5 separate regions of the Homo sapiens genome follow, and all the other regions are linked to region 1. Evidence: promoter capture Hi-C in 16 types of primary human blood cells and fetal thymus (Javierre and others, 2016). All regions are on one chromosome and are shown on one strand. The core of a region is centred on a gene start or on the middle of the fragment in contact, and the rest is flanking DNA. Distances in the headings are between cores, read along the strand shown. Region 1 holds the start of FAM124A (family with sequence similarity 124 member A). Region 2 holds the start of NEK3 (NIMA related kinase 3). Region 3 overlaps NEK5 (NIMA related kinase 5). Region 4 has its middle 6.2 kb from the start of CCDC70. Region 5 overlaps DHRS12 (dehydrogenase/reductase 12).

The links. The method cuts DNA at HindIII sites, captures the fragments that hold promoters and counts their contacts. A CHiCAGO score of 5 or more calls a contact.
Region 2: a contact is called between the fragment with the promoter of NEK3 here and the fragment with the promoter of FAM124A in region 1, in 4 of 17 cell types (non-activated CD4 T cells, activated CD4 T cells, naive CD4 T cells and 1 more). The highest score is 5.8, in non-activated CD4 T cells.
Region 3: a contact is called between a fragment that was not itself captured here and the fragment with the promoter of FAM124A in region 1, in 1 of 17 cell types (neutrophils). The highest score is 5.5, in neutrophils.
Region 4: a fragment that was not itself captured here is called in contact with the fragment with the promoter of FAM124A in region 1 in 1 of 17 cell types (total B cells); the score reaches 5.0 in total B cells.
Region 5: a contact is called between a fragment that was not itself captured here and the fragment with the promoter of FAM124A in region 1, in 3 of 17 cell types (fetal thymus, activated CD4 T cells and naive B cells). The highest score is 8.0, in fetal thymus.

What each region holds. Positions count from the first base shown.
Region 1 is chr13:51,220,878-51,223,787 of GRCh38, reverse strand. FAM124A (family with sequence similarity 124 member A) reads right to left here and starts at 1,390. Exons shown (of 4, transcript NM_001242312.2): 1 at 1,219-1,390. The coding sequence starts at 1,286. RefSeq lists silencers at 1,442-1,501, 1,622-1,671 and an enhancer at 1,452-2,242. The HindIII fragment of the contact is 7,882 bases long and covers 1-2,910 here.
Region 2 is chr13:52,158,228-52,161,137 of GRCh38, reverse strand. It overlaps NEK3 (NIMA related kinase 3), which reads left to right and starts at 1,541. Exons shown (of 16, transcript NM_002498.3): 1 at 1,541-1,595. RefSeq lists silencers at 1,605-1,664, 1,745-1,854. The HindIII fragment of the contact is 6,327 bases long and covers 1-2,910 here.
Region 3 is chr13:52,069,540-52,072,449 of GRCh38, reverse strand. NEK5 (NIMA related kinase 5) reads left to right here. Exons shown (of 24, transcript NM_001365552.1): 20 at 380-506. Among named protein-coding and RNA genes, the nearest start is that of UTP14C, 46 kb to the right of the region's middle. The HindIII fragment of the contact is 2,725 bases long and covers 79-2,803 here.
Region 4 is chr13:51,866,729-51,869,638 of GRCh38, reverse strand. It overlaps a transcript of TMEM272 not described here. Among named protein-coding and RNA genes, the nearest start is that of CCDC70, 6.2 kb to the right of the region's middle. The HindIII fragment of the contact is 191 bases long and covers 1,409-1,599 here.
Region 5 is chr13:51,794,594-51,797,503 of GRCh38, reverse strand. The region is part of intron 2 of DHRS12 (dehydrogenase/reductase 12); the gene reads left to right. Among named protein-coding and RNA genes, the nearest start is that of DHRS12, 8.1 kb to the left of the region's middle. RefSeq lists an enhancer at 1-451. The HindIII fragment of the contact is 2,234 bases long and covers 276-2,509 here.

The DNA of each region.
Region 1 (2,910 bases), core at 141-2,640:
GAAAGGAAGTTTGGCATTTAGCATCAGGTTACTCCACCAGATTATAATTGGGTGCTGTAGAGAGCTATGAATAAGTTTGGATAACAGAGAAAGCCCATTGCTGGGTGAATGCCCTAGGGAGTAAAGTCCCGCATTTGGGCTAGGAGTGGTGGGGCAGGAGGGGCCCTGTGGGGAGCTTTGCCGGGGTTGGGTTAGAACTCTGGGTCGATCGTGGGCCTGGATTCTCTACCTGCCCTCACAGGGTTGCCAAATCCTGAGATTAGTCTAAAACCTCTCCGACCTTCCAGGAATGAGGCTTTCTGTAGTCTAGGCAGCTCCCGCCCTCCCCCAGGATTACTCCAGATAGGAAAAAACACCCTTTCCTCCTGGGTCAGTACCCGCGGCCTGGATGTGGTGCTGACTCTGCACAGGAAAGTCCTTTAGAGACAGAGGCTGCCTGGAAGCCTTTATAACGACATTCATCTCCTAAAAGGCATTTTGTCTTTTCTTCCGCTCAGGAAAACAGTGTTTGGAGACTAACTAATTAGTCTCCAAAGGTTTGAGCCCATTGTTTGAGTCCGCTGAAGCGAAGAGAATATTAAAAAAAAAAAAAGGCAGGGCTAGATCCTAATCCCAACACCATCTCCATCCCGCCGGTACAACAGGCCAAAGGGTCCAGCTGGGACAGGTGCACTTAGAGGTGAGGAAGTTCGGCGGGACTGGAGGAGTCGGGGAGGGGGACTCGGCAGCACAGATTAAAGTCCCACGATGAAGCCATATAACGAGAAATGCCATCCTCCTAGCCGACTTCGGAAAGACTTTTAGGTGCGGGTGTCCCACCCTGCTTTTCTTCCTCTCCCGATCTCCAGGGCCGGACTCCAGGGGGCTCCGGAGCTACAGGAGGAAAGTCCCCGAGGAAGGAGGAAACAAGTGCAAGAGCATCTCCTGTCTCTAGCGATGCAGACAAGGGGTCTTTGCATCCGCCTGGCGCTCTGCATCGCCTCACAGGATGGGTGGGCTTGCACTGAACCTTGAGTCCTTCCACTTTCCTCCCCCCGGGTGGTGCCCGCCCTGCCCAGGGCAGCGCGGCCCGCCCAGGAGAGAGCGGGGGATCCGGCAGGAGGAGAAGCCCCGCGCCCCGGTCCCGTCGCACGGATCAGGAGGGTCCCCGTCCGGGGAGGAGCCGCCGCGCAACTCGGAGAGCGCCCCCCGCCCGCGGCCCGGCCCGGCGCGGCTCACCCTCCGGTCTCGGCGCCCGAGTCCACGCAGTCGTCCTCCTCGCCGCCGCCGCCCGCCTTTGGGTCCATGGTGCACGTCCCGGCCGCGCTCGGCTTGCGGGCGCCGTCGTGACCCGGGGCGCCCTCCCTCCCGGCCGCCCAGTCCGAGCCGGCCGGGCTCCCTCCGAGCGTCTGGCGGCCCGGGAGCCGGCAAACAACTCAAGCGCCAGCCGCGAACCCCGCGCCGCGCCCTCTCCCGACCGCGCCCGGCTGGGCACCCGCGCCTGCGCCCGCGCCCGCCCCGCCCCTCGCCGTCCGGCGGGACCCGCGTGTGCGCGCGGCGGTGCGCGGGGAGTGCGCGTGCGAGCGCGTGTGCGAGCGCGTGGGGGGCGTGTGAGCGTGAGTGGCCGAGGTGTGTGGTCTCACACCCGTGCGTCTGTGCATGCGGTGTGATGTGGGTGCGGTGTGCACTCCTGGTTGCACGCGACTGTGGCTGTGCTGAGCGCGTGTGCCCGTCTGTGGTGCGTGACCGCGTGTGTGTTGTGGGGGCGGGGTAAGTGTGCACACGAGAGCCGCCTCTCTCCCCCAGGCCCACAGTCCGGGAATCCCGAGCCCCAGGGCTTGCCACGAGGTTCCCCACCTCCTGATCTGGGAGGAGCACTGAGAAAACCAACCTCAGCGCATCGTGAAAGCTGGGAAGGATTTGTTTCCCTTTTGGGACCAATTCGAACACCTGGGTGTTTTCTTATAGTTTCTGAAGAATTGCTGACGCCAAATTCATTATCACCTTTCTCAGTACACGTCTGAGCGGCATCCCACCCCCTCAACTTGCCAGTTTACAATAGGTGTCATGCATTCTTTTGCTACTTAAAAAAAAAAAAGCCTTTAAAAATAATTTAAAGAGCATTGAATGAACCTGCAATTCACGGGTTGTTGCAGCAAGGGGATAACCTTAGGGTGAGTTAATGATCGCTATTGGAGGGGCTCACCTCCTATTAGGAGGGTGAAGAGGGAGGCAAGTTGGCAGGGCGGGCGGAAGGAGACTTCGAACAACTTGAATTTAGTTCTGACAGCCCTATCCAAACCATTGGGAGGAATTGTCCTTACTGAGCCTAAAATTTCTTGCACCCCAAACAGCAATGGACATATTGGTGGGCATTAGCTGAAAGAAAGGAGCGTGCCAGTTCTTCAAGGGAGATTCCCCTGCCCATTTTTTATCTTGCAGCCAGGAGGGAACCTGCCTTTATTTACTCTGTGTGGGAACAATTCAAACTGTGCCTCATTTGATCCTCAGGGAAGTGCTGTGAAACAGGCTTACTTTTCTATTTTACCGTCAAGGAAACTAAACCCTACCGAGTTCGAGTGCCTGGTCCCAGGACACCCTATCAGTGAGCAGGGAAGCCAGGTAGTCCACTTAAGGTAGCTGGAGCCTGTGCCACTTACCTAGAAGGCTGATGAGTGGGCCAGTTGTATCCTCAGGAAGATGGTACTAAGGAAAAGGCCAGGGAAGAAAGGGTGAAATCAGCATGACTTTTAGAAGATGGGCTTTGGAAAATGAGATGCTATTTAAATGATTTCTGCCTTTCTCAAATATCCAGAGAAAGGGCATGCCAGACCAAAACCTCAAGCCACATCTCAAAATGATGCATGGATTCAGGTTCCCCTCGCCCACAGGGGACACAGTGTTATCATTCATCATTGGCATAGCAGTCTA
Region 2 (2,910 bases), core at 292-2,791, 940 kb before region 1:
GTTATGGATGAACTAGTGAGAACTGACTTCTTACTTCCTTTAAAAACCCTACCCAAAAATAGCTGGTCAGGACACAATTCAAATGCTTCTGGAATCTGTGTTCCTTGAACTGCAATTCTCAGACTGCCAATAAACTTCTTTACTTGGATTTCGGTCTCTCTGACTCTGGTTGACACGTTATAATGAACACGTTCAGCGCTTACAAGTAAAGGGTAACCAGATGTTGTTCACAGTAATCCTATGAGGTAGGTTCTATACTTTTATACAGAGGGATTTAGTTACTCTGCTGTATTAGTTTCCTAAGGCTTCTGTAACAAACTGTGACAACCTAAGTGGCTAAAACGACACGAATTTATTACCTTACAGTTCTGAAGTTCAGAAATACAGCTCACTGGGTTAAAATCAAGGCGTCAGTGTGCATGGTGGTTTTCCTGTAGTCCCAGCCACTCAGGAGGCTGAGGTGGGCGGATCGCTTGAGCCCGGGAGCTCAAAACCAGTCTTGGCAACATAGCAAGACCCTGTTTCAAAAAACAAAAAAATCAAGGGGTCAGCTGGACTGTTACTTCTGGAAGCTCTGGGGAACAATTTGGTTTTTGTTTTTTGTTTTTCCCTCCTTTTCTAGCTTCTCCTCCTTTTCCACCTCCCACCTCCTCCTTTATATATATATATATATATATATATATATTTTTTTTTTTTTTTGGAGACAGGTTCTTGCTCTGTCACCAAAGCTGGACTGCAGTGGTGGGATCATGAGCCCTCTCCAGCTCTAGTGATCCTCCTGCCCCAATCCCCCGAGCAGCTGGGACCACAGTGCCCGTCGCTATGTCTAGTTAATTTTTCGTAGAGACGAGTGTCTCACTATGTTGCCCAGGCTGATCTCGAACTCCTGGGCTAAAGTGTTCCTCTCCTGCCTCTGCCTTCCAAAGCACTGGGATTGCAAACATGAGACACTGTGCCTGCTCCTCTTCCAGCTTCTTGAGGCCAGCTGCATTCCTTGGCTGTTGCCCCTTCCTCCACCTTCAAATAGCTTTCTCATACTGACCTTCTTTTTGGGCCCCTTCCACTTTAGAGAACCCTTGTAATTACTTTGTAATTACCCAAGCACACACTCCAAGATCGTCACCTTATTTTAAAGTCCGCTGATAAGCAACCTTAATTCCATCTGCAATCTTAACCCCCTCTGCCAAGCAAGAGAACAAACGCACAGGTTCCAGGGAGTAGGATGTGGACATCCTGAGGCGGAAGCATTATCCCGCCTTCCACAATTGCCCAAGGTCACATAGCTAGTAAGTTCTAGCTAGCACTGAGTGCTGTGCCCGTGAAATTTATCTACATAGGCTTTCACTTAACCTGCAGACAGAACTCAGTTAGTCGGGGACAATTTCCCTCAATGTTAACAGCACTGTTCCACCGCAACGTGGAACAACAGCTTTAAAACGTGCTCTTCGTAGGCCCGGCTACTCCAAGAACAGTGCCTCCCGCCAGACCCAGGCGGCTTCCTTCACCCGCAACCCGAGAGACGACCCGCCGGGCCCGCCCCGCGGAAGCCGCCGGTTGCCAGGCCAAGGAGTGGACTAGGGTCGCCGGGGAAGCGGGTGAGTGGTCCCCGCCCTGGCGGGCTGCCTCTAGAACGAGGAGGGCGGCGCGTGGTCGCGGCGCGGAGCCGAGTGGGAGCGAGGGGTAGACGCGCCCCGGACGCGCGGCCGCGCCCCTCACTTCCGCCCCGCGGTCTGGACCACTCGCCGCAAACCCGCAAGTCCCTCGCCGCCTTGGGGTCTGGGCGCGCGGTGCCGTGGGGGTCAGCAGGGCGGAGCGGCTTTTCCAGGAGAAAGGGCCCTCACGGGTGAGCGGGGCGACTGGGCTCCCCCGCGGTGCAGTTGCCCCGCGGGCGCCGGCCCCGGCTCAACGGATTCTTCTCGCTCGCTGCCCGGAAAGAACCAGTGAGAACCGCTGTTGCAGCAAAAAAAGAAGTTAATAAGCGCAGGGCTGGCCAAACCAGAACAGGGTCTCAGACCTGTCTCCCCGAGAATTCGGGGGCGAGGGTTTTAAAGGGCATTTTGGCTTCGGGGGGCTGGGGAACTGAAACAGTTGACCGGCTGGGGATGAAATCACAAGAGCTTCTGAAACTCGGGGCGGCTTCGTTGGTTCCCAGGAAGGGGTGGGGTCAGTTTCCCTTGTCTTGAAGTTTACACGAAATCCCTCTCCCAGTTATCCTAGCCTCTGTGCTAGAATAAGAAAACGACAACACGGTGAAAACTTAGCCCGTGAGGTTAGAAGCAAGATGGAGTCAGTCATGTTAGATTTCTCGCATTACTTATACATCTGTAAAGGTGGTTTCAGGGACCTTTCTGAACTTAGCCCGTATCTCACTGGTGATCCCACTTCTGGGTATTTGCAAATCACTTTATTAGGTTTTTAAAAGTATTGTTGCAGGCATGCGAAGGGGCCGATATACTTTTGCCATGTCCAGAGTGTATTCAGGTCTTGTAATGATCATATGGGTGTAATATTGAGTAACAGGCAAATGTGGGCAGAAAATATCAAATGTGGTTTTCAGCTAAGAAGTCTGGTTGCTCTTAATTTTCAGTTACTCTCCATTGCATAGAATAAAGCCCCGAAGAAACGAAGAATAAGATCATGGGGAAACTTGGCTTCCATGTTAAACCGTGTAATACCAGGTGTTAGAATAGTAGTAAAGGACTTGTTTCTTTCACATCTATATACACTCAAAAGACCTCATCGATCTTGGAAAAACATTGTTTCGAAGACAATGTGTATGACTGATTTGGTTATATGAAGAAATTATTTCTAGGATTTCCTGGTAATTCTGTGATAAACAGTAATACAAACTGGAATTTTTACAGGTCACTATAGTAGAGGTTTTAGTTTGATTTTTGCTTTGCCTGTCAT
Region 3 (2,910 bases), core at 192-2,691, 850 kb before region 1:
TACAAAATACTAGGAGCAGATTTAGGGAGCTGGTTAAGAATGTTGTACACTTAAAACAGGGCATGAATGAGAAAAGCTTGAGAGCACTGTAGAATGGAGCTGAAGTGGAATACTATTGAAGTCAGAAAGTCTAGATAAAATTAAGTTGCCTTATGACCAGTGCTTGACACTGTTAACATGGAGAAGAAATGAAAACATTTCTGTTTTTATCTAACATAGCTCTAGTTTTAAAACTCTATGGATTTATTTGTTTAGTAAACATTTGTTGAATATTTACTATATACCTTGCTAATTAATTTTACTAGGAACACGAAAATATGGTTTTTCTTTCTTTCAAAATATGGCTAATTTATCATGAAACACTGTGGAATTGATTTAGGCAATGGATATACCAAATGAAACTTTGACCTTTGAGGATGGCATGAAGTTTAAGGAATATGAATGTGTAAAGGAGCATGGAGATTATACAGACAAAGCATTTGAAAAACTTCACTGCCCAGAAGCAGGTATGTGTTTCTTGAAAGTTGTAAATGAGAAGGAACTGTTTTATTAGCAACCCATTTTGAACTCTGTCCCCATGCATCTGCCTCGGCTCCACTGTTACTTGACCCCTTTCTGCCCTCTCTAAGCAAGGCAGAAACACACTTATTATTCTCCTGCCACCCATGCAGTGGCCACACTCCCTGAGATCCAGCCCTCCTCTCCTGCTCCATACCCACTCCCTCTTGCAGCTTTGGCTTCTCCCAGGAGCTCCAGACTTACCAGTCTTTCTCATTGTCTTCTGGGAAGCTCCATGGACAAGTGTTGCCAGTATCTGAAACTCAGCTGTGTAAAGTCAAGCTCTTCTGTGCTCTTCCCAGTGACCCTTTATTTTGGTTAGTGTCACAGATGCAACTGGCTGGGGCCAGTGTTGTGGGCAGTAAAAGAATTTATCAACACAATTGTAAGTAAAGAAAGGCAGATTTATTAAAGTACAGAGATACGTTGCAAGAGTGCAATGGGCAGCACAGCAGAGAAGAGGCTGTCTGCTAAGAGGCAGGGGCTAGAGGGAAGTTTTATAGGGTCATATTGGAGGAGCTACATGCTGATAAGGTGTGCAGATAAGGTTTTGCTGCTTGGGCTACATGTGGAAGGAATGAGGTATTTGGGAACAGGATGTGACAGCAGCTTGTCTGTGATGAGTCATCTCTCAGAACAGTTGTTCCCCCATCCCCACCCCCAACCTGGGACCCCTCCCTTTTTGTTGTTTACTTATCTTATGAGAACTTCACAGTCAGTGCTGTCACCAGGGTGCACCCTTAGCATAGTGTCTATTCTGAGATGTCTCTGGAGTCTTCCTCTTCCTTCATTCTCTCTGTTACTGGTTTAGGGCTCTGTCATCTCTCAGTAGTGTGGTGTAGGCTTCAGAGACAGATGGGAATTGAATCTCAGCTGTTGCTGCCACCTTCTGGTTATGTGACCTTTCTTTCACAAGTTATTCCAACACTGAATCTCAGTTTCACCTTAGGAACAGGGGATAATAGTAGTAGGAATAACCACACAGGGTAATTGTGAGGACCAAAGTGAGTTTTGATGTATAAACGACCTGGCACATACTAGGTGCCTAAATTAAGTGCTGTCTTTTCATTTTCCCTTTTCCTTCCCCTTGCTGTATTGCCTTATTTGCTTATGTGACCTTCTTTCTCTAGTATTTCCCCTTCATTCTCTAAATGGTTACTGTATTAGTCCATTTTCTTGCTGCTGATAAAGACATACCTGAGACTGAGCAATTTACAAAAGAAAGAGGTTTAATTGGACTTACAGTTCCACATGGCTGGGGAAGCCTCACAATCATGGTGGAAGGCAAGGAAAAGCAAGTCACATTTTACATGGATGGCAGCAGGCAAAGAGAAAGAACTTGTGCAGAGGAACTCCTCTTTTTAAAACCATCTTATCTCGTGAGACTCATTCACCATCACGAGAACAGCATGGGAAAGATCCGCCCCCATGATTCAACCACCTCCCTCTGGGTCACCCCACAACACACAGGAATTCAAGATGAGATTTGGGTGGGACACAGCCAAACGATATCAGTTACTAAAGTTATCTTGGCATATTATTACTCTGCTCAGATTTTTTTTTGGATAATACCTGCAGAATAAGGTCCATTCCACATATTATCACATTTAACACTACATGGCCTAATTCTGCTGTGACCCACTTTTCTCATCCCAGCATGGCCTCTTTCCTTCCATGGAAAATGGGATCCATACAGCCTGCTGGAATGCCCATTTTCTCCTACAGCTGGAATGCCCATTTTCTCCTACAGCATTTACAGAACTGACTTGGCTCAGTTTCCTCTTCCTGGAATACTCTCTGCCTCATTTCCTTCTGGAAAAATCTCCATTCAGCAGGCATCTTATTGAGGATCTCCTTTGTGCCAAAGACTGCTCACTGGTAGGGAGCTCAAAGATGAATGAAATCTGGGCCCTGTTCTCAATATCACAGAAGTGTTATGAGCAAAAAAGTCACAAAACATGTTTTCTGAGCCTGAAATGTTAATCACTGTTTGAAGTGCGAGCTGGGTGGAGAGTCAGGGAGGTCCGCACTCCTCCAGGGCTTCACATGCCATCATTTTTGTGATTGAGAAGGATCATGCTGGCTGCAGAGCAAAGGATGGCATGGAGGGCAAGACTGAAGGCAGGAGAAGAGTCCAAGTGCATGAGCCAGAGTGGTGCAGGGAGAATAGATACTGAGTGTGGGAACTGAGGAAGAGAAGGGGCTCAAGGATATTCCCAGTTTTCTAATTCAAATGCATGAAGCTTTCATCAACCAAAAATACATCACATGGAGGGTAATGGGGTCGGGAGAGACAAGGTAGTGATCTAAATTTGGAACATGTTGAGATTTAGGTCTATAGAGCATCAGTTG
Region 4 (2,910 bases), core at 255-2,754, 650 kb before region 1:
AGGTGCCTGTAATCCCAGCTACTCAGGAGGCTGAGGCAGGAGAATCCCTTGAACTCTGGAAGCAGAGGTTGCAGTGAGCCGAGATCGTGCCACTGCACTCCAGCCTGGGCGACAGGGCGAGACTCCATCTCAAAAAAAAAAAAAAAATTACTGAATTGGGACTGGGTTTTTTAACTTAAAGTGACTGGAAGAATCCATGGTGTCTACTCGAGTTTTAATTTAGGGACAAGGGTGGAGCTAGCCCCATTGATACCGTTTAAAGGGACAAGATAATTCTTGATAGCACGACGTCTAATGCTGGCACATAAGAACTTAGGACATGGTCCACCCTCCTCGGGGCAATGAGGAATAGCTTTGTTGAGGTTAATAATGTGAGGATGGAGAGAGCAATAGATGAACTAGAGTCAGACCTTGATCATGACACAGCTCCACTCCTTACCACAGCCAAAGTCTCTTCACTGAGCATTGTTCCTTCATCTACAAAATAAGGGGGTTCAACTAGACAGCCAGTGGGATGCCTTCTCTATCTAAACTCTTGCATGAGTCTAGGGATGGCAAGGTGGAGAGGGGTTGGGTGAGTAGCCCCTTTCCTGGAGATAAACCACAGATGGTTTAAACCAGAGAAGACACTGGAGAACCCACTGCATTTCAAAAATATTTCCTTTCCCTTCTGGCAGCTTTGGGTAATTTGGGTAAGCACTTCTGGGTGGAGGCACAGCTCAGGCTTTGCGGGGAAGATGAATTTAGTGGTGAAACAACAGTTATGACAATAGATGCTGTTTCTGGCGCCTCTGAATCTTCTAGTATCTGCATTATGATTTTGGAATAAAAGATGATTCATTTCGAGTCTGGAACTCAGCTAAATGAGCAGGACTCTGAAACACCATAAATGACATTTCTCCCTGCCAGGAGCTCAAAGCAGGGAGACTGAGCCACTCCATAGATATTTGCCTGTGCTTTGTCTTACGAAAGACCCAGGAACTCTCTCAGGAGTTCAGCCTTGCTGTCACAGGTGCTGGCTAAGGGAAGCCAGCTTTGGCTGCTGCTGAGGTTGTGGAGAAATCTATCTGCATTTGTGCTAACAGTATTAATAAAAGCCCAGAAGTTAGGAGATGTTTCTGTGAATGTTATCTGCACTCTATCTGTGAAACAATGCTGAAGGTCAGGTGATTCCCAGATATTAGTTGTACACAGCTTACTTATCCTTAGGTTTCCTTTTGGCTAAAACTCGGTTTCATTCATCTCTGTGCATCTTTGCATAGCGTTTAAAGCACACTCGAGTGACATGCACTGCTGTAGTGCTCTCTCAGAGAGGCAGCCCCATGGGCCTCTTCCCTCCTAGCATTTGCCAGATTTTCCAAATAATGACATTGTGATTGTGTGACTCTCCCGCACTGGACGGAAAGCTTCCCGTAGGCAAGAATTAGCTCGTTCCCAAACATAGCATAGTGTTGGCAAGGCACAGTGGTGATGAATAAATACATAAGTGGATGATGAATTAAATGATTTATGTAGCAAAGGGATGCTGGCTGCACACCTTCTTGTTGGATGGCAGGGAACAAGAAGAAAGGTTGAGTTCACCCAGGTGCTAAACAAGCTTTGAGAACTTCCTTTCCACAGCAGATAAAAGGAGTCTGCAATTGTGGAGGTCTAGAGTACACTTTTCATCTCCCTTCATCCTGAATTTTGTCTTTGGCAGAATCTCTGGGGATTTTTGAATCTGCAGCTTTTCTCTGCACTGGGGTTCCTGCAGTGTGAATACCATCCAATGGCCCACACCGTCCAGGTCTTGAGTGTGGGCCCCTGGCAGCCCTCTTGAAATCGAATTCTCTCCACCCTGCATCCTATTCCCCATGGCTTGCTGAAGTCCTTGCCCTGGGACCCATGGAGAGCTGAGGATGGGTGTGTGACCAAGGAGAAAGCTGCTCCCACTGCTCTCTGACCCTGCTTCCTCTGAGAATCAGAGGACTTGCAGGGAACCCAGACTTTCCCAGCGCCAATTTTTCCATTGGCCATGCAGTAACCCAGGCTTTCCCACAATCTTCTGAAGCCTCAGAGGCCTGGCTGCTCCTGGGAGTCGGCCCACTCTCCTGGCACCAAGGGTATTTGTTCACCCTTGACTTTGTAAAGATCCCTGTCCTCTCCTCTCCCTAGCTCTCCACCCCCAAGCCACTGTGAAATCCTAGTGTACTTTAAGGCTCTCCCAGTATTGACACCACTATCAGCCAAGTCACTTCCCGTGACCCAGGGCTGTATTAGGAAAGGGCCACAATACCAAGAGACAGACACTGTGGGTTTTGGTCCTGGCCCTCCTATTTGCTACTTGCTGAACCACATGCACTCACATTGCTTCTTTAGGTCTCTGTTTCCTCATCTGTACAATGGGTTTATGCACCTTCCCTGCCAGCCCACAGAGCTGTGGTGAAGGTCACATGAGGAGGTGCATGAGAAAGTGCTTGTCTAGTAGTAGGGGACCCACTACGGTGAGGTAAGTTGATGTGTTAATGACAGTGAAGGCCAGGCCTAAGGAAAGGGGGAGCAGGACACATTTGTCGTGGCGTTTCTTACTCCCTTACTCCCTCACTCTGGTCATTTGTGTGGCATTCCCTATAAAGGCCATCTAATCTCCCCACCCCCAGAAGAAAAGTTGGGCACATAAGTTGCTTGACCACATTCATGTACATTCATTCAATGTACTACTCCCTAGGGTATTTTAATTTTAAAATAGATGAAAGCAGGAAGCCCCCCAAAAAGAATGTATAATACAGAAACACAGGGACCATGAGACTTATGTGAGTGGGAATATGTGAGGGCAGGGACAGGGAGCATGCCCATGCATTGCCCAGGCCACTCCATGGGTCAACTTGACTCCCTCATCAGGGGCGTCAGTGCTCTTGGGGGCCGCACTCT
Region 5 (2,910 bases), core at 143-2,642, 570 kb before region 1:
ACAGCAAGGGTCACCCGGGTGCCACGGAGCCATGCATTGACCCGATGTGCTCTAATAAAGAGAAACACCGGCAGCATTTGGGTCTTGATGAGAGCTACTTTCTGACACGAGCCTTCAGAGCTGCCTCACATTTTGTGGTCTTTCTGTTCTGAAAGAGCTGGAACCAGGATTGGCTACATAATTAGTGGGGCTCGGTGCAAAATGAAAATGCAAGACCCTTGTGTAAAAGTTATTTAGAATTTCTACACAACAAAGGCAGGACATTAAACCAAGCTTGAGGCCTTTCCAGTCGCAGGGCGTGTGCAGCTGTATAGATCATATTCCCATGATCCATCGTGTAGCCATAAGGCTGCCCTGAATGGAAAACCCTGACCCCCAAAAGGACCCTCAGTCATGGCTGCTCGCTCACTGTCACTAAAGAACATCCTCATTCCATTCCTACCTCTTCTCTAGGAGACCCCACAATTGGAGGGCCTGTAGGAGGGAAGCTGGGGAGGGACAGACAGTACCCACCCTCAGGCATGGACCCTGGTCAAAGAGAAGAATGCCCCTCTCTAGGATGGAATATTTTGCATCAACTTTGAAATAACATTTTCACACCAAGTGTCTGTTCCTTTCCCTTTCTCATGGAAATCCCCAGTCTCATGCCATCAGGTGCCTTACAGAGGCTTAGTGCTGGCGGCAAGTGTGAGGGTCTCTAAATCTTCCTCTAATGTCTGCAAGTGCCGCTGCGATCTGCGGGCTGCAGTTCTCGAGATTGAAAGCTGGCTGTCTGCCTGCTGATAACTTTCGGTGGTGCTGCTGCAGGATGCAACAAGAATACTAATCTCAGGCCACGGACAGGAGGAGGTTTGCCTGGATTCCAGCCTGCTGTGGTGTGGGCCACAGGCTTTAAAAAGTATATTTAAATGAAAAATGATGATAATATGGATCTGTTTGGCTTATATCTAATTCCACCATGTTTAGGAGGGGTAGAGAGCTGAAAAGGGGAGCAAGCATGTTCCTGCACTGGGGAGAAAGCAAGCCCTTGCCTACTGCCCCCCTCACCTCCATACAGATACACTTGACGGGATTTGAATGCACACACAGGACATTCACTGCTCTCTCGGGTTTATAAGTGGCCTCCAGCACTCAGAGGTGGAGCGTCCAGGATGAGGGTACCTGTCTGCTTATGCCAGTGTCTGTGGTTTCCCTGACTCAGTGTCTCCTCCAGGCTCTGCCAGGGATCAGCTGTCCCTCCCTGCTTATGAAGAGGCCCCACTCCACAGCTTCATCTGGTCTACCTTTGGTAGGCAGCCCACACACAAAAGCGTGGTATGAAGGAGGGAGTTGGGCTCTGATACGAGTCCTGGTTTTGCACTTTCTGGCCTGTGAGCTTGGGCAAAGTTCTTAGCTTCCCTGAACATTCATTTCCTCATTAAAAAATAGGGGTAACTTGACTTTATTAGTTTTTTAACATGTATTTAAGGGTGAACCGTATGCCAAACAGCTGGAGACACAGTGATTGGGACAGACACAGCCCCAGACAGTCTTGTGCAGGATACAAGTGATTAACAGTTTCCTTGAAGTGTGTGTGCCTGCCCTGGGCCTGGCCGCCATGCTCTGTATCATAGTGGGGGTGGGTTGGGGGACAAATAGTATGAACCCCAAGGTATGTGTTTCTTCAGCTCCTACAACCAGACAGCTTTTGGCTGGGTTTGGCCAATGGCAGTTACTAGAGGAAGATTGCTAGGTGAAAGGAAGGGGGGAATTGAGATATTGGCTTCCCTGGTGATGGCGAATCTCCTCTCTGGTTCTTCCTTCTGGTTCCTGGGCTCAGGCCACACTGCATTCTCCCTTTGTTCCTTGAGCCTAGGGCTGGTGGTAGTTTCCTGTTGTTACTAATCTCTGGGTTACTTCACCAATCCTGGTTGAGTTCTCACCTTCCTTAATCACCTGGGAAATCAATCCCTGCGTTCAGTTCCCTCTGTTGAAAGAGGTGTCTGTTAGATGTTACTGAAATAACATGATAAGGGCTACAAGATGGGAAGCTCAGGGTATCCTAAGAACAAACAGCTCTCAATCAATAGAAGTAGCTACTATTATTATTGTTGGTATTATCATTATTGTTTATACTAATATTATTACCACTCCCAACCTTACATTCTCTGCTTCAAGTGTGTTCTGTTTAATCAGTGCTTAGGCCCTGCTCAGTGGGAGGTGGAAGCCTGCAAGCCCCCAGTAGCAGAAAAGATGTGTGGTAGAGCTGTGAGGGCAGTGGAGCAGCTGGTCCTGCGTGCATGGTTGGGTGAACATCAAAGAAAGAAGGTCCCTTGGGCAGGAGGGTCTGGGTGAGGTGTGCGGCAGGCCAGCTGAGCCAGGGAGCACAGGCACCAGGTAAGGCTCAAGGTCACGTGGGGATCTCAGCTGCTTGTACACGCTGGCTTGGTAAGATCAGGTGTTTGGCCATATAGAGAGGTGAATATCATGCTGAGGTGATCTTTCAGAGAGGTTATGTGTGGCTTAAGCTTGGGGAAAGGAGTACTGGTTACTGTAGAGCAGACTGCTGGCTCACCAGTCCACTGGACACGATGCTCCCAAAGGGCCTAGGGGAGAAACAGGGTGTACCTTTTTCCCCAGGCTTCTGGTTGCAGTTCAGCCCCACCTTAGTACCTGGCTCCAGACTTTCGTCTAGCAGTTATCTCCATGGGTAACATTAAAAAAAAAAAAAACTTCTATTTTATGTATTATTTTTTGAGATAGGCTCTCGGGATTTTTGAGATAGGCTATTTTTGAGATAGGCTTTCACAGTTGGGATTTGTCTGATGTCTTTCTGATGATTACACTGGAGTTATGGGTTTTAGAGGGAAAGATCACAGAGGGACAGGTGCCTGGGCAACATTTTTCAGTCCTGCAGGCCTCCTGATGTGG